Linked DNA regions of Homo sapiens: regions 2, 3 and 4 are each linked to region 1. The links are contacts of gene promoters, found by promoter capture Hi-C in human tissues and cell types (Jung and others, 2019). All regions are on one chromosome and are shown on one strand. The core of a region is centred on a gene start or on the middle of the fragment in contact, and the rest is flanking DNA. Distances in the headings are between cores, read along the strand shown. Region 1 holds the start of C9orf72 (C9orf72-SMCR8 complex subunit). Region 2 has its middle 6.3 kb from the start of LINGO2. Region 3 overlaps LINGO2 (leucine rich repeat and Ig domain containing 2). Region 4 overlaps LINGO2 (leucine rich repeat and Ig domain containing 2).

Region 1 (4,321 bases), core at 601-3,100:
TTTTTTGTAGAGACAGGGTCTACGTTGCCCAGGTTGAGCTTGAACTCCTGGCTTCAAGTGATCCTCTTGCCTCCGCCTCCCAAAGCTCTGGCATTACAGGTGTAAGCCACCTTCTCCAACCTGGCTCTCAATACTTGTAACCATGCTGTTTATTTTCTCCCAGCCCAAAGAGAAGCAGGATCCTAAACCGTCCACTTTCCACAACAGGAGCTGCCCAGGACCACTTCAAGGACAGTGAACTGTTTACAGTACCAGAAAGTTCACAACACTTTCTCAATCTTCAACATCAGGGAAGACTGGAAGGTGAAGTTCATATCACTATCTGGCCATTTCTCACAGTTCCAAGTTTCTCAGACAATAGGTAGGCTAACCTAGTCCTCCTGGGAACTATCTAATTAACGTAGAATAGAACCCGAGGGCAGACTTGAAAAACAGAAGTCCTCCTTGGTTTACTTTGTTTCTCTGAAAGCAAATTGTGGAGTGCCAACATAGCCAAACAAAATATTTTATCAACTTCATAAGGTGCTTGTAATTTTTTCCTGGAGCAGGTAAATGCTGGCTTAGTGAACAATCTGGAATGTGGTAATTACTCTCGTTCTTGTTTCAGATGTACTATCAGCATGTAGCAGTTTCCAACTGATTCAGGGTTTTCCTAAAGTGGCAGGCCTTGGCAGAGGTGGTGACAACAATGCCCGTGTCAAATGACACCGTATTTCAAGTATTCTGACTCCAGGTTATTAATATCCCCTATATGATAGTCTTGTTTCTGTGATATTCACAGATTATGTTAAAAGTTTCCCAAAGTCTGAGAAAAATCATATCTTAACAGTATCTTTTTTTTTTTTGATCCTTTGTACAAAAGTAGAAGTAATGCCAGACAGATTACGTACCCTTGTTGTGAACAACTGGTGCATGGCAACTGTTTGAATAGAAATTTACCAACTGCCACAACCAGGCAACTACTCTCCCAGAGCCTAACAATCTCGATTGCATCTGAAAGGGCCACCCCTCCTGGGAAAGTGCAGGACCTCCCTCCTGTTTCTGAATACAAAGCCTGGTGGTGTTCAACGCGGCCAGATAGACCCAATGAGCACACGGACATGTAATCTGTGCACTTCTTTAGACAACTGATTACCATCAGTCAAGTGATGCCCAAGTCACAATAGTCACTTCCTTTAAGCAAGTCTGTGTCATCTCGGAGCTGTGAAGCAACCAGGTCATGTCCCACAGAATGGGGAGCACACCGACTTGCATTGCTGCCCTCATATGCAAGTCATCACCACTCTCTAGAAGCTTGGGCTGAAATTGTGCAGGCGTCTCCACACCCCCATCTCATCCCGCATGATCTCCTCGCCGGCAGGGACCGTCTCGGGTTCCTAGCGAACCCCGACTTGGTCCGCAGAAGCCGCGCGCCGCCCACCCTCCGGCCTTCCCCCAGGCGAGGCCTCTCAGTACCCGAGGCTCCCTTTTCTCGAGCCCGCAGCGGCAGCGCTCCCAGCGGGTCCCCGGGAAGGAGACAGCTCGGGTACTGAGGGCGGGAAAGCAAGGAAGAGGCCAGATCCCCATCCCTTGTCCCTGCGCCGCCGCCGCCGCCGCCGCCGCCGGGAAGCCCGGGGCCCGGATGCAGGCAATTCCACCAGTCGCTAGAGGCGAAAGCCCGACACCCAGCTTCGGTCAGAGAAATGAGAGGGAAAGTAAAAATGCGTCGAGCTCTGAGGAGAGCCCCCGCTTCTACCCGCGCCTCTTCCCGGCAGCCGAACCCCAAACAGCCACCCGCCAGGATGCCGCCTCCTCACTCACCCACTCGCCACCGCCTGCGCCTCCGCCGCCGCGGGCGCAGGCACCGCAACCGCAGCCCCGCCCCGGGCCCGCCCCCGGGCCCGCCCCGACCACGCCCCGGCCCCGGCCCCGGCCCCTAGCGCGCGACTCCTGAGTTCCAGAGCTTGCTACAGGCTGCGGTTGTTTCCCTCCTTGTTTTCTTCTGGTTAATCTTTATCAGGTCTTTTCTTGTTCACCCTCAGCGAGTACTGTGAGAGCAAGTAGTGGGGAGAGAGGGTGGGAAAAACAAAAACACACACCTCCTAAACCCACACCTGCTCTTGCTAGACCCCGCCCCCAAAAGAGAAGCAACCGGGCAGCAGGGACGGCTGACACACCAAGCGTCATCTTTTACGTGGGCGGAACTTGTCGCTGTTTGACGCACCTCTCTTTCCTAGCGGGACACCGTAGGTTACGTCTGTCTGTTTTCTATGTGCGATGACGTTTTCTCACGAGGCTAGCGAAATGGGGCGGGGCAACTTGTCCTGTTCTTTTATCTTAAGACCCGCTCTGGAGGAGCGTTGGCGCAATAGCGTGTGCGAACCTTAATAGGGGAGGCTGCTGGATCTGGAGAAAGTGAAGACGATTTCGTGGTTTTGAATGGTTTTGTTTGTGCTTGGTAGGCAGTGGGCGCTCAACACATAATTGGTGGATGAAATTTTGTTTTTACCGTAAGACACTGTTAAGTGCATTCAAAACTCCACTGCAAACCCTGGTAGGGGACAGCTCCGGCACTGCGGGCGGGAATCCCACGGTCCCCTGCAAAGTCATCGCAATTTTGCCTTTACATGTAAGAATTCTCTCAAGCATGATTTTCACACTGGGGAATGTCATTTTTGCTAGTTGCAATATGTGGATGAGTTGTTTTTTTTTAACTTTTGAAAAACGTACCATTCTGTTTGATGTGTAAAAAACACAAAGATTTTTGAAACCTTGCGTCTTTTGGTCTGCAGGTGTATAGATTCCACTTACTACAGATGAGTAGCATTTACACCACTCAGATGTGTAAAAAAACAAAGGTTTTTTAAACTGTGTGCCTTTTGATCTGCAAGTGTGAGATGGCACTTACTACAGTGAGTAGCATTTAATCTTTTTCATCACTAAAAATCACACAGAACGTTTTAATCATTCACCGAGGAAGAAAGGGAGGAATAAATACACAAAATGGCTCTCAACGTCTACACCTTCTGCAGAAACAGACCCTTTTCCTACTGTTCTATGCTTTGTGAAAGTTGATCATACAAATTGGGTCATTCTTTTTATACCCAACTAAAATAGTGGGGGTAGGGGGTAGAAAAGCACTTAGGACAAATGACACTGCTCCCACAGTGTAATTCTCTCCAAGTCCAGCTGCTGCAACTGCCCGTTGTGACCTGAGACCAGTTTTATCTAATAGTTGCTAAAATGACCTGCTGCAGCTCTAATTTTATCTACCACCATCACTCACCAGTTGAAACTCACCAGCTCCTCAGATCCTTAATAGTGCCAATGAATTTTCTCAAAGAGCACTATGTAACATTTCTCTTTTTTAACAAAACCTCCCCCTTTTCTTTGTTGTGTGGATATACCGAAGACCATCTGATCTACATGTATGCCCTAATTGCAATTCTTTCTTCCCAAATAAATCACTTAATTTAGAGATTCATCTCTGTATTTTTATTTTGACTGACAGCTTATAACAAGTAGCTAGCATTTACCAAGTTTCTACACTGAGTTGTACTTCACTTATACGTGGAATTAAAAAACAACTGAATTTATAGAAACAGAGTAGACCCTTGGTTGGGGGGCTTGGGGGGAAAGAAAATTGTAGGGTAGGGTACAAAGTTGCAGTTACGTCTAATACATCTAGAGATTTAATGTACAACATGAGGACTAGCGTTAATAATTGTGTTAGTCCATTCTTACACTGCTATAAAGAAATAACTGAAACTGGGTAATTTATAAAGAAAAGTTTAATGGCTCACAGTTCTGCAGGCTGTACAAGAAGCATGGCTGGATCAGCTTCTGGGCAGGCCATAGGGAACTTAAAATCATGATGGAAGGCATAGGGAGACCCCAGACTTCACATGGCAGGAACTGGGGGAAGAGAGAAATGGGAGGTGCTACATACGTTTAAACAACTAGATCTTGTCAGAACTCACTATATAGTACCAAGAGGGGACTGTACAAAACCATTAGAAGCCACCCCATAATCCACTCACCTCCCACCAGGCCCAACCTCCAACACTGGGGATTACAGTTGAACATGAGATTTGGGTGGGGACAGAGATCCAAACCATGTTATTCCAACTCTGGCCCCTCCCAAATCTAATGTCCTTCTCATATTGCAAAATACTGTCGTGCCTTACCAACAGTTCCCCAAAGTCTTAACTCGATCCAGCATTCATTCAAAAGTCCAAAGTCCCAAGTCTCACCTGAGACGAAGCTAGTCCCTTCTACCTATGAACCTGTAAAATCAAAAACAAGGTAATTGCTTCAAAGATACAATGGGGGTATAGGCATT
Region 2 (4,321 bases), core at 549-3,048, 1.6 Mb after region 1:
TTGATTTTGGAACCGTGTGTAAGTTTTACCTTATAAAATAAAAGAGTGCCTTTGAGGGGTTGCATGGAAAGAAAAGTATAACAGATGTATCTCCGCCTTTTACTTAAAAAAGATGTTTGTTGCTGTTGTTGTTGTTGTTTTTAAAAAGGGTAGGTGAAAGTTGTGAAATAACCTGGCCTGCAATACATTTGCTCATTTACTCCTGCCAGGGAGAGACCTTGAGGGAAAGAAGCAAAAAGGGGTTTCTTAGTTCAGACTACTGTAACAAAATACCACCGCATGGGTAGCTTAAATAGTAGGAATGTATTTCTCACAGTTCTGGAGTTCTGTGAGAAACATTTTTCACAGTTCTTGGAAGGCCAAGATTAAGATGCTAGCCAATTTGGTTCTTGGTGATGGCTCTTTTCCTAGCCTGCATACAGCTGCCTTCTAACTATGTCCTCACATGGCCTTTTCTCAGTGTGTGTTGGGGGGAAGAGAGAAAAAGAAACAGAGACATTTCAGCCACAGTTTATATAGCAACTAATCCTATCATGAAGGTCCCACTCACATGACCTGTCTAACCCTAATTACCTCCCAAAGGTCTCATCTCTACACACCACCACATTAGATGTTAGAGCTTCAGCACATGAATTTGGGGTGGGAAGAAGGTACAACGTTTAGTCCATAACAAGTGAGCAGGTCTAATCTCCTTGTCAATTCTACCTCCCCTGGGTAAATAGACTAATGGTATTTGCTAGAAGGAAGAGGGTTGTCTTTGGGCCCTTAGTAGGATATCTGACTAAGGATTACCTATAATAGATAGAACCAGAATTTATAAGGGATGGCTTCCTGGAAAATGGCATATAGTGTTTGCAGTGCTGGGGTATAAAATGGAGATGTTTTATAATTGAAGCATTACCAACTGTATGAGGAACCATGCACGCCTCACTTGGAGGCTTTATGTATTCTGGGCTAAAGAGATGTGGCTTTCACAGGAAAGAAAGACCTGCAGAGCCATTATTTTGAAACTTTTGATAAGCCTTTTGTTTGTACCTTTGAAATTATTTAGTTTAGGCTAATACTGCTTATGATCTCTGATTCATGTTAGTCTGATTTGAGAAATTCACTCTTAAGAAATAGCGTGAAAAATGGCTTAATTCAAAAAGTAAGCAACTTAAATGACACCTTTTAGGTACCAGAAATACTCTAGGAGAACTAGATTTATTTATTCACTTAATCCTAACAACAAATCTAATAATAATTATCTTCATTGTATAGATGAAGAAACAGTCACAGAAAAGTCAAAAAGCCTTGCCAAGGTCACATAGCTGCTTAAGTGGTACAGTCAGGGTTTAAACCGTGGCTGTCTAACATTAGATCACAGCTTTTTAACCTACACCAGAAGGTTCTATATTAGCTATAAGGTCTGTTAGAACAGGGACTTGGCTTTACTGTTGATTACAGGCTCAACAGGCCAAAAACGGTACATGGATCCTGACTGGATAAAAACCATGGACAGTAGCGAGACAACTTAGTATACCTGTTTGCCACACACTGTGCTAATTGCGTTATGTATGTTACCTTGTTGAATTTTTTTTTTTTTTTTTTGGGACATAGTCTCACTGTGTCACCCAGGCTGGAGTGTAGTGGTGTGATCTCCACTCACTGCAACCTTTGCCTCCCGGGTTCAAGTGATTCTCCTGCTTCAGCCTCCCAAGTAGCTGGGATTACAGGCACCCACCACCACACCCAGCTAATTTTTGTATTTTTTGGTAGGGATGGGGTTTCACCATGTTGACCAGGCTGATCTCGAACTCCTGACCATGTGATCCACATGCCTTGGCCTCCCAAAGTGCTGGGATTACGGACATGAGCCACCAAACCCAGCCTTTTATTGAATTTTTAAAACAACTCCATGGCTTAGGCAATGTTATTATTACTCTGCTAATGATCAACATGAAGTTAATTGTTTCCTCAAAGTCTCGCAGTGGTTCAGTACAGAAACAGAATCTCAACTCAGTACCATTATGCCACATTGCTTTTAACCTAAACTATTATTTTATACAATAATATTATGTTGTAATTAAGTCTCTTGCTTACAATTCTGTCATTATTCTAGTGTTCAAAACACATGCTACAATGAAATAAACAGATCAAACATAGAGTCTGAATAAATATCTTTCAAAGCAGTGGAGTGTTTTGCTGAAGAAACTACTCAAGTGTCAGTGATTTACCACTTGTCATCCTCCTAATATAAGTGGGTGTCCTGGTGACTATTTCTGATATTTTTTTGACAAGGGAGGAAATCAGACAAGGTAGTGTGGTCAGGAAAAGAATCATAAATTTTCCTTTCTTTTTACAACAACTTTGGCCCATTTGATTTGTTACAAAGAAGTGGTGTTTGTTTTCTTCAACTGTCTCTCCATTTGTCAGTCAGTGGATTCATAAGCCATCCTATAAAATTTCAAAATGCCATTCTCTGTTGCACATTATAAAAATGAAACAACAATAGAAAGCTTTCACTTCTACCTTGGTTCAAATTTCCCTTTTCCTTAAATCTTAAACATAAGGCAGTTCTTGCAATGGCAGTTGAAAGATGACACTGGAGCTGTCATCTAGGGGCCAGCTGCTGATGAACTCACATACCAGGACAAGGAGTTTAAAATTCACCTTGATGATAATGGGCAGTTTATAAGCAATTTATCTGCAAATTCATGCATCTCTGTGTTATGGTTAATCTGCAGTCTTTGGAGTTAGACCTCCTGGATTTGAATTCTGGCTCTGAGACTTGCTAGGTCTAGGACAAGGGTGCTGTAGAAGCACATAGGAGGGCCCTCTGAATCATTTTAGGGAACATGGGAACAGGGAAAGATCAGACAGGGTAGTTCAGGGAATGCTACCCAGAGAAAAATATTCTAAGCAGAATTGCAAAGGAAGACTTGGCAGAAGCCTGAATATGCAAACAAAGAGGTCGAAAGCTGTGTAAAGTTTTCAAAAATGAGATAGGGACAGAGGGTAGGAGGAAGAGAAGAGACATCTGTCATTGTGGTAACTGCAGACAGATGTTTAAGCTAAAATTTAAGTAGTTACTAACTCCCAGTACCTAAGAATGTAACTATATTAAAAGAGCCTTTAAAGAGGTGATTAAGTAAAAAGGAAGCTATTAGGGTGAGTCTAAATCTAATGTGCCTGATGTCCTTATAAAAATAAGAAATTAGGACACAGAGAGAGACACCAGGGTTGCCTGTGCCCAAAGGGTGGGCCATGTGAAAAGGCAGCAAGAGGGCAGCCAAGTCAAGTAGAGAGAACTCGGGAGAAAACAACCCTGCTGACACTTTGAAATTAGACTTCTGGTCTCCTGAACTGTGAGAAAATAAATTTATGTTGCTAAATCAACCCACTCTGCAGTTCTTTGTTATGACAGCTCTAGCAAAACTAAGAAGGGAAAAGCAACTAATAGATGAGATTGGAGAAGTCAGCTTGAAGCCTGGACATTAATAAGCTCATTCTCATAAGATCATGTCAGAGGAAGAAGAATGAAGAAGGAAAGGCAAGGCCAGTTAGCAATTAAAGATATTCCCTGAACTAAGACAATGAGCATAGGTATGGAAAAAGAAAGAGACAAATCCAGAGAGATAAGACAGAAATAACATAATTTAGAGATGGATTTCATGCGAGTAGCAGTGGTGTGGGAGAAGTATAGAACTGAAGGATAGTATCCTTTTACAAACAAGAAAAGAGGTAAAGGAGGGAAAATTTTTTGTTGTTATGTTTTTGCTGGTGGATAGTTAGATGATTTAATCAGAGTTGTGGTGACAAATACAAATGAACATATAAAATGCTCAAAACAAACATTAAATACCAATGTAGGAAAACAATATAACATGTGTCTTAAAGCTGTATGCAATTAGGTACAAATGCTTGTTTAACAAACTAGGCTTATAAACACGGAGAAATGGGATTCCCTAAACTGGAAGATGAAAAAAGAATTCCTGAAGGTTGGAGCTTGTTTTTTAAGAATGTAATATTTGAGAATGTGAGGCTGAATGTACAGAGAGAGAAAATGAGTAAAATGAAACAAGATTTGTGAGGTTGAATGGAGAGAGAGAGAAAAAGAGTAAAATGAAGCAAGATTTGTGAGGTTGAATGGAGAGACAGAGAGAGAAAGTGAGTAAAATGAACCAAGATATTGTGGGAGTATATAAAAGATATTTGTACACAGGAAGCAAAACAGGTTAGGCAAACAGATTAGTGGAAAAATATAGTTGGAAGTGGTTTCAAAACTAAATTTGAAAGAGATTGTAGAGTCTTGAATTCTGACATGCATGTGGGGTTTTAA
Region 3 (4,321 bases), core at 944-3,443, 1.4 Mb after region 1:
ACACAAGTATATAGAGATACCAATTGACTTGGTAACTTATGTCACTTAGCGTATGGTAGAGTTAAGGTAAAACATCTAACTATCCTGACATGGAGCATATTTTGTTTATTTGTTTTTCAGTAGACCACATCGCCTCCCATGAAAGAGTTTAATGTATTCCATAAAAGTAATGTAGAGTCCCCAGGATGAACTGCTTTCAATGTCAGGAAGAGTTCTTTAAACAACAGTTAAAAGCAGCATTATTTGAAAAGAAAAATAAGTAGAGTATATTGTTTTTGCCTTTACCGAGAGGTAGGGGGTACACTTTTAACTAATACCCACTTACTGATGCATAAAATTGAGTCCTCCCTTTACTTAAAGAATAGAGAAACATATATTGAGAGCTGAGTTATGTGAAAGCTGCTTATGATCATAATTACTCTTCAAGATTTCACCCATTTTGGAAAAGAAGAAATGAGGCACTGACGGTATTTCACGCATGACCATACAGTCTGCAAGCTGTGGGACTAGACTGTATCTCTAATGCCAACTGCCTTACACTGAAAATCTTCTGTTTCATGAGCACCCCTAGAGCTGAGTCCTACTTGCCTTGTTTGTTATCTGCCTTGAGGCCCAAGGCAGTGCCCAATTCACACTCAAATTTGAGGGCTTTGCTGAGTTCTTATACCTAACACAGTTCCCAAATAATTATTTTTTGAAAGACTTAGGAAAATGGCATGAAGTAGAGCCTAAAGAATTTAACTGAAGCAATATTGTAAGGAAAAGTCAGTGTTGGAGAATACAAACTATCCTACCACTAGGCCAAGAACCAGTTCCTAGGGGACTGAAGAAAATGAGAAAACTGAAGCAGAAGGAAATAAACCTTGAATCATTTCTGGTAGTAAATGTGAGAAGAATAAAACCAAATATGACCTGGGGCATTCCTCCACATTTCAGTCACCTTTTCTTTTAGAGAGAGAAGCTAGTTGCATGGGATGATCATGTTATTACTGTTGAATTTCTGACTTTTTGCCACCTACATCATTCAGTTATGTTTTATCACCTTTTATTCCCCCTGGCAACAAGATTGACCATTAGTCTGAGTTGACTCTAGATATCTAAGGGAAAAATGTTATAATTCATCAACATAGTCTTGTCAGACAAGGTTAGGATGTATTTCTGATAGACAGGAAGGGAACAGGTGTTTTTAATATCACTAAAACTGTAAGATGTATAGCATACAATCTATTTCTTCTCTTTCACCTCTAGCAGAGAGCGAGAAAGAGAAAGAGAGAAGACAGAGAAGATTTATGCAACTTCTTGATCATTTTCAAATAAGTTTTCATAAGAAGCTTTAAGGAAGTTTTATCAAAACCCTAATATTAAGTAAGTACTACTTTGTTTTATTCAAATAACATACATATATTAATGAAGTCTTGCACACCAAATTGAACATTGGATTGAACTTTTAAGTTTATATTATTTGACACCCTGAAGTAGACTTTTCAGTCATACTTTTATCTGAACTTTATAATGGACTAATGAAATCACTAAGAATGTTATAAAACTAGAACAAAATTTGCAACATTTAACAGATGAGCCACAGATCACAGACATCGGTACAAAATTGATAAATAATTAAACAGATCTTTTAGACTTACAGAAAATAGACATGCCGAGTTTTTGCTCTAGAAATTGATTATTAGGACATTTCCCTTTCAAAAACTGGAGTGGCTGGGCTATATCTCCTTTTACTTTGTTACAAAGCCTGGATCCCTTTTATCCTGTTACAATGAACTAGGAGATGAAGAATCACAGTAGATCCCAAGTGACTTTCCCAGGGCTAAATTGCAAGCAAGGTTTCTTCAGGTGTTTCTTGTTAAAGTAAAAATCTCATTGTAATGAAATTAATGTTTACTTGTCTATCTTACTTACAATATTAGAAGCTACCCTACCTTCTTAAAGGTAAAAATAATGTTACACTTCACTTTTGTACTTCAAAAGCCTATGACAGAGCCTGGCATATGTTAATAGCATGTAATAGATGTCTTTTGGATGAATTGGTGTTCTTTTAACCTCTGTGTTCCAATATAAATGCAGAGAATGAATTAGATCTCAGAAGTCCTTTTTTAGGTATTAAACTTCATATCCCAGATTCCATAACTAGTTTCATTTTTAAAACAAAGAATTATCTTCATGTTTCTTGGAACTTGTATTAATTTTGATGTATAAAGTGCAATTTTAACACAGCTGATGATACCTTGAAAAAATGTGACATGGCAATCAGATCTTTATTGTTATCAAACCACGACAGAGTGCAATTAAGATATATGCCTATGGGTAATAATAGTTTCTAGTAGACACATGCTCCCAAAGGAACATAGTGATTCTTATCAGAAGTCAGAAATAAAAGAGAATGTGGGAGCACAAGTATATAACATAGTGATGCCTTCATTCAATCAATAGTTATATGTAAATTTTTTTTGAAAGTAAGACAAAATCATTAAAGAAAAAAATACTTGCCCTGGTAGAGATCACATTTTACTGGGGTTATAGATAAATAATAATAAGCATAGCATAGTAGTAAATTATTTATACATTAGAAGAAGATCAGCACTGTGTTAAAAAAATAAAAAGAGCAGATTAAGGCATATTGGATGTCTTATGTGACACAATTTTACAGAGTGGTCAGCACATCCCTTATTGAAAAGGTAACACTTGAGTAAAGTCTTCAAAGGAAAGACTAATATCTGAGGAAAAAAAATCCAAGCAAGAGTAACAGCAAGTATAAAGACCAGGGGCAGGTAGTGGGCCCTGTGCTGGTAACTGAGACTGAAGCAGGGCTAGGAAAATTAACATAAATAGAAAGCAAAGTCTAAAAGGTAACGGGACATAGTATTACTTTGGCTTTTGAGCTGAAGAGAAATAAGAAATCATTAGATGTTTTTGAGCTGGTTTGAAATTTAAAAGACGACTTTGGCTTCTGTTTGAGAAAAGACTAAAAACAGGTAGAGGTGAAAGCAGAAAAACCAGTCAGGAAGTGGCTCTAATAATTCATTACCCTGTTCCTGATAACTTGGACCAGGGTAATGGTAGTACAGATAGTGAAAAGTAACAGGCTTTTGATTATGGTTTCCAAGAAGAACTAGAAGGATTTGCTAATGAATTGACGTGGGTATGAAGGAAGAGAGGAGATTCAAGAATGATTCTTAGGATTTTGCCATGGAGCACCCAAGAGTGGAGTTACCATTAAATGAAATGAAGCAGACAGTAGCTAAAGCAAAAGTTTTGTTTTTGTTTTTGTTTTCCTTTAGAAAATTAAAATATCATGTTTCTTTGTAATGAGTTTAGGATGTCTATTAGACATTTAAGTAGGCAGTTACATCTAGAAATCCGGAGCACAGAAGAGAGTTTGATCTAGAAATATGTGTTTATGATTCATCAGCATATACTTCGGATTTCTGACAATGAGATGTGTTCACAAAGGAAGACAGTGTACGTGGGAAAAGAAGGATAGGAAGGGGAAGAAAGGGAAGAGAAGGGAATAATAGTGAAGAGAAGAGATGAGGTCCTAGCACTAAGCTTAGGGCACATCAGTGTTAGGAAGGCCAGAGAAAAGAAGAGTGAGCAAAAGAGATTGAAAAGAAGTGGCTGATGAGACATGCTACTGAAGGGCCTAGACTACTGGAAACCAAGTGAAGAAACTGCTTTTAGGAAAAGGAAGACATTTCATTTGCATTTCAAAACCTCACCTTGGAGTAGGGAGCAAGATGGTAGAATACAAGATTCCACCAATGGTCCCCCTGAAAAGGACACCAAATTAACAAGTATTTACACAAGAAAAGCACCTTCATCAGAACAAAAAATCAGGTGAGCACTCACACTACCTAGTTTTAATATCCTATCCATGAAAGAGGCAATGAAGAGGTAGAAAAAATCTCGAATCGCTAATGCAACCCCTCCCCCACCCCCCAGCAGTGGCAGGGTGTGGAGAGTGTTTCAGTGTGCTGAGGGAGGGAGAGCACAGCAGTTATGAGGCATTGAACTCTGGGCCGTGTTGTTAGAGCAGAAAAGAAAACTAGACCAGACTCAGCTGACATCCACCCACAGACCGGAACATTTAGACCAGCCCTAGCCAAAAGGGAATTGCCAATCCCAGAAGTCAGAACTTGAGTTCCTGCGATCCTTGACACAATAGGCTAAAGTGCTATGGATCTCTGAGTAAACTTGAAAGGCAGTCTAGGCGACAAGGACTGCAACTTTTACAGGAGTCCTAGTGATGAACTGGGCCCAGAGACAGTGGACGAGGAGGGCACACCACCTATTGAGGCAACAGCCAGAG
Region 4 (4,321 bases), core at 613-3,112, 1.2 Mb after region 1:
CTTTTTGATACACACACACACACACACACACACACACACACACACACACACTTACTTTAGCATCTCACTTTTTGTAAAGGCAAGATTTAAAACACTTTAAACAGCAAGAAACTTGAGCTTTCTCTTTTGATTTTAATTTCAATAATAGAGCATGAGCTGTTCAGGAGGTTCAAGTTTCTATTCTTATAATAGTTTTCTACACAATATAAGGTACATATGTAAGCTATGCTAGTATAAGTTTATATAAGACCTCCTAAAACGGTTCACTGAATAGCAAAAAAGAAAGAGGATTCCTCCTGGAATGAAATACATGTTTTGCATTTTTTGTTAGTTGAATTTTTTTTGGCCATTGCCAAAACGTATCCAACAAAAATCTCATGCTTGTTTGCAAGGCAAATATTAGAATTATTGTACATACATATGCCCATGCCTATACACATTTCACACACATATATATACACACACACATTATAGAAAAATGTGATTGGTATATTCTCATTTTATATATGTGATGTCACTGATGTGCATGATTTAAAAGATATCTTGTCAGCTCTGAACTTAAAAAAAAAAGCAGAGCAATTAAACTTTTCTGGCACTAGAGGTCGCTAAAACCAGATTACAGATACAGTGACTGCACTTCTAAATCCACAGGGAGGATAGCTAATTTACAATCCAATATGTAGTGGTAAAGGATCAAAGTAAATTACGTTCAGGAATATCTACATTATAACACAAAGTATTGCAAAGTTCAATTTTTTCAGTGGGAATCAACAAAATTGTGGGTTTTTCAAATCAAATTAATAATAAGGAAAATTAATGTTTCCCCTATTTTAACAGCTGTATATATTTAACCAAAATGAAAGCGCTGGACCTTAAACTTGACTGTTTATGTGTTTTGCATTTCAAAGACCACACAGGAACAAATCGTCGAATAAGTAAATTGTTTGTCAAAGCTTTGCTTTTTTAGTATGCCTGGCAATAAACATGTTAACAGAGTCAACTGGAAGAAGGGGAGGGGAGTGACCAATAATGTGTGTGCGGATATTGCTGGTGATGCTGCCAAAGTGAGCATAGGAGGCAAAACAGAGTTATGAGTTGTGCCTTAGAGGAGAAGCTTTGCTTGGCAGTCACTGACTGCTGAGCCGAACTCTGGATTCTCTGTTTCTTAGCACAGGAAAGGTCCCGGTGTTTTGGTTGTGAAAAGCCACCCATTTTCTAAAGCTGCTCCCTACATTACACAGTTGTACCACCACTTGATTTTGGAGAAGCACATCATTGGTTCACTCCCTTCAAACAGGGATTCTTTCCATTTGTGAATCTCACTGCTATCTGAGCCAGGTTTCTGAGCCCCAAAGATAGTGGAAACTATCTGTGCATAGGTACTGAATCTTTAGAGTGCATGGCCTGCCTGATAATTTTCTAAAAGGTCCAATGGCTTCTTTAAATACCAGCATGGTTTGGAAGTCACATAGTTCCCTGGTCAATTATGTTCTAGATGCCATGGGAAAGAATACATATCTTTTTGGGCCTCAAACTTCCTGAACATTAAGTAAGATCACTGGACTATGGGGCCTTAAATATTATAAGTCTAATGTTCAATGAACTTACATGAGTCCTGCCTGAGAAGAAGAATTTCATGATTGACATCTGCTAAGAACTATTAAAGATGTAATTTTAAGAAATGTGCATACTGATAATGATTTGTACTTCTTAGTTTATTCTCCATGCAAAACTATTGGCCATTCTGAAATATTATGATATTTTCTAAATTTGGGGAAAATATACTTTGTTCGTTCACTCTTTGTTTGGAAAACCTAGTTGGTTATGCCTTGAGACCCTAGTGGTGACATCTTTAATGAGAATAATGAAAAAAATTGTAACATCATATATCTTCTCCTTTGCTTCAAAATCCAGAAGGACATTTGAAGTGCTTGAGGGCAGAAATCAGCAATTTTCATGTCACCAGTCCCTGGCTCATGGCAAGCACTCAGAGTGTGTGTTTGATGGGTTCATCAAAGAAAGAGTAGGTTTGTTTATTAACAACATGGTTTTGAGGATCCTGAAAAAGTCAGTTTATGGAATACTTTTGTTATAAGTCAAAATCTAACTCTTGAATAAGCCCCTGGCTTCAGTGAGGAAACAGTGAGCTTTAGTGATCCTTAGGATAGGAGAATGGTTGAACGACCACTTAAGTGGTGAAAGATGAGAAACAGTAGCCAAAAGGAGGCTATCACAATTTTTTTCTCTCTTTTTCTTTCTGCCTTCTTATACTTTAATGTGCTAGCCCATGAATCAAATGAACAAAAGCTTTATTTTACAGACATTTTGAATCAAAATAACTGACTCTAAATTGTAACTCTAGAAATGGCCATTTAATTGTTCTGCCTGTCCTTTAGAATTATGCAAAAACTAAATAATGAAAACTAACAATGCAGAAAGTTTACTCAAATTCAATATTCAAATATTACTAATTTAACCAGTAGCTATAATCCTTCCCTAGAGTATCTTCTCAAAAGAAAAAATATTATGAGCTGGTAACCATGCTGGAGCTGTTTCCTTTCATGCATTCTCCCTCTCTCTATTCCACAAAAATTGTTAAGGGCACGATGCATACCAGGTACCATGTTAAGCACAGAAAATACAATGATGAACTAAACAGACACTGTCTTTCCTTTTCAAAGGTTATTGTAAGTCAAAGAACACCACTGGTCAAGTAAATAAGCAATAACGATGAGTGAGATTTGTGTCAGAACAGAGGAAGTATAGAGTATATAGAACCCCAGTCACACAGCTGCCTCTTTTTTTTTTTTCAGTCAACTTGTCAGACAGAAGTTACTCCATAATATGGTTTGGATTTGTGTCCCTGCCCAAATCTCTTGTCAAATTGTAGGAGTGGCCTGGCGGGAGGTGATGATTTCCCCTTGGATTTCCCCCTTGCTGTTCTCATGATAGTGAGTTCTCACGAGATCTGGTTGTTTAAAAGTGTGTGGCACGTCCCCCTTTGCTCCCTCTCCCACTTGCTCTGCCTTGGTGAGACGCGCTTTCTTCCCCTCCCCTTCCGCCATGATTGTAAATTTCCTGAGGCCTCCCAATCATGCTTCTCTACAGTCTGTGGAACTGTGAGTCAATTAAACCTCTTTTCTTCATAAATGACCCAGTCTCGGGTAGCTCTTCTAGCAATGTAAAAAGGGATTAATACACTCAGTAAATATTTGATGAATTATATGCATGTTGAACAATTGAGACTGAATAAAAACAATCATTATTTCAGAAGAAAGGGAGGCATAGAAACTTGAAACAATACCTCTAAAACTGAAGAAAAGTAGGCAGGGTCCTATTTTAAGATACTCAACCACCAGTTTACATTCTAGGCACTAAAATTCCCATTCTGTTTTCTAAGCTGTTGAAAGCTGGAGCAACAGCTCAAGTGACGATAAAAGAGATATGAGGCGATACAAGATCAGGTATTGGGAAAAACAAAGTTTTCTGTAGCTCAAACTGTGTGCCAGTGAGGTGTTTATACAAATTCTCCAGAAAGATATATATTGATTTCACTATTTTAATACGAGAGAGTTACAGGCAAAGGGTACTCTACTTTAAGAGAAGAGAGGTGCAGGAATGTGCGTCATATAATCTCACAGAAAGATCTTTTGGTCTAAGACAGAGAACAGAATAAGGAAAATCTCATGATGTGGGTAGGAGACATTATAAATTTGTGACCCATCAGTGGCTGAGTTGCTCGTGTTAAGTCCTGGCCATAACTATGCTGGCTCTGATAAGCTGCCAAAGCAAGGGACTTCCACAAATAAGACAGTGTATAAATTTAAGGTATTAAATCCTTTTTTATTTCATTTTAAAATCCTGATTTCTCTTTTTCTGACAGCACATCCCATAGTTCCTTCTGCCTTCTTGCTACATTAGAGAGCAATAATGAATGTCGAGTTTTGATGGGTACCATGAGGACCCTTCTCTATAGTGCATAGTCCATGTGGGTCTTTCTGATATGATTGATAGTGGCATAGAAGCATTCTGCATATAAAGATTAATTGCTTCAGCAATTATCCTTTACTGAATGGTTGACTATAACTCCACACTTTTGACTCCTACTTAAGCAAGCAGTTCCTTCATTGGGTTAATTTATTTTCTCCTTCTCTTTTAAACTAATAGTATATTTCCATGTTATTTTAAATCTTTTACTTTAGATAAAATGTTTCCTCTTGCCACTCTAAGTTAAGATTTGGGTAAGACCTTCATAAGTCATAAGGAAAAGGATGGATTAAATAATTTATGTGATTTTTTTTCTTATCAGTAACTCAGAAAA

What was found. Contacts are between HindIII fragments. The study calls those that stand out against the background at their distance.
Region 2: a fragment that was not itself captured here is called in contact with the fragment with the promoter of C9orf72 in region 1 in 1 of the 25 tissues and cell types used here (dorsolateral prefrontal cortex).
Region 3: a fragment that was not itself captured here is called in contact with the fragment with the promoter of C9orf72 in region 1 in 1 of the 25 tissues and cell types used here (dorsolateral prefrontal cortex).
Region 4: a fragment that was not itself captured here is called in contact with the fragment with the promoter of C9orf72 in region 1 in 1 of the 25 tissues and cell types used here (dorsolateral prefrontal cortex).

The regions. Positions count from the first base shown.
Region 1 is chr9:27,571,631-27,575,951 of GRCh38, forward strand. It overlaps C9orf72 (C9orf72-SMCR8 complex subunit), which reads right to left and starts at 1,851. Exons shown (of 11, transcript NM_018325.5): 1 at 1,801-1,851. RefSeq lists enhancers at 1,245-1,334, 1,933-2,460 and a silencer at 1,845-1,924. The HindIII fragment of the contact is 8,764 bases long and covers 1-4,321 here.
Region 2 is chr9:29,217,786-29,222,106 of GRCh38, forward strand. No RefSeq gene overlaps it. Among named protein-coding and RNA genes, the nearest start is that of LINGO2, 6.3 kb to the left of the region's middle. The HindIII fragment of the contact is 4,288 bases long and covers 1-3,942 here.
Region 3 is chr9:28,966,582-28,970,902 of GRCh38, forward strand. All of the region lies in intron 1 of LINGO2 (leucine rich repeat and Ig domain containing 2), which reads right to left. Among named protein-coding and RNA genes, the nearest start is that of MIR873, 80 kb to the left of the region's middle. RefSeq lists an enhancer at 3,564-4,321. The HindIII fragment of the contact is 4,046 bases long and covers 171-4,216 here.
Region 4 is chr9:28,774,033-28,778,353 of GRCh38, forward strand. All of the region lies in intron 2 of LINGO2 (leucine rich repeat and Ig domain containing 2), which reads right to left. Among named protein-coding and RNA genes, the nearest start is that of MIR876, 88 kb to the right of the region's middle. RefSeq lists an enhancer at 1,107-1,606. The HindIII fragment of the contact is 3,198 bases long and covers 264-3,461 here.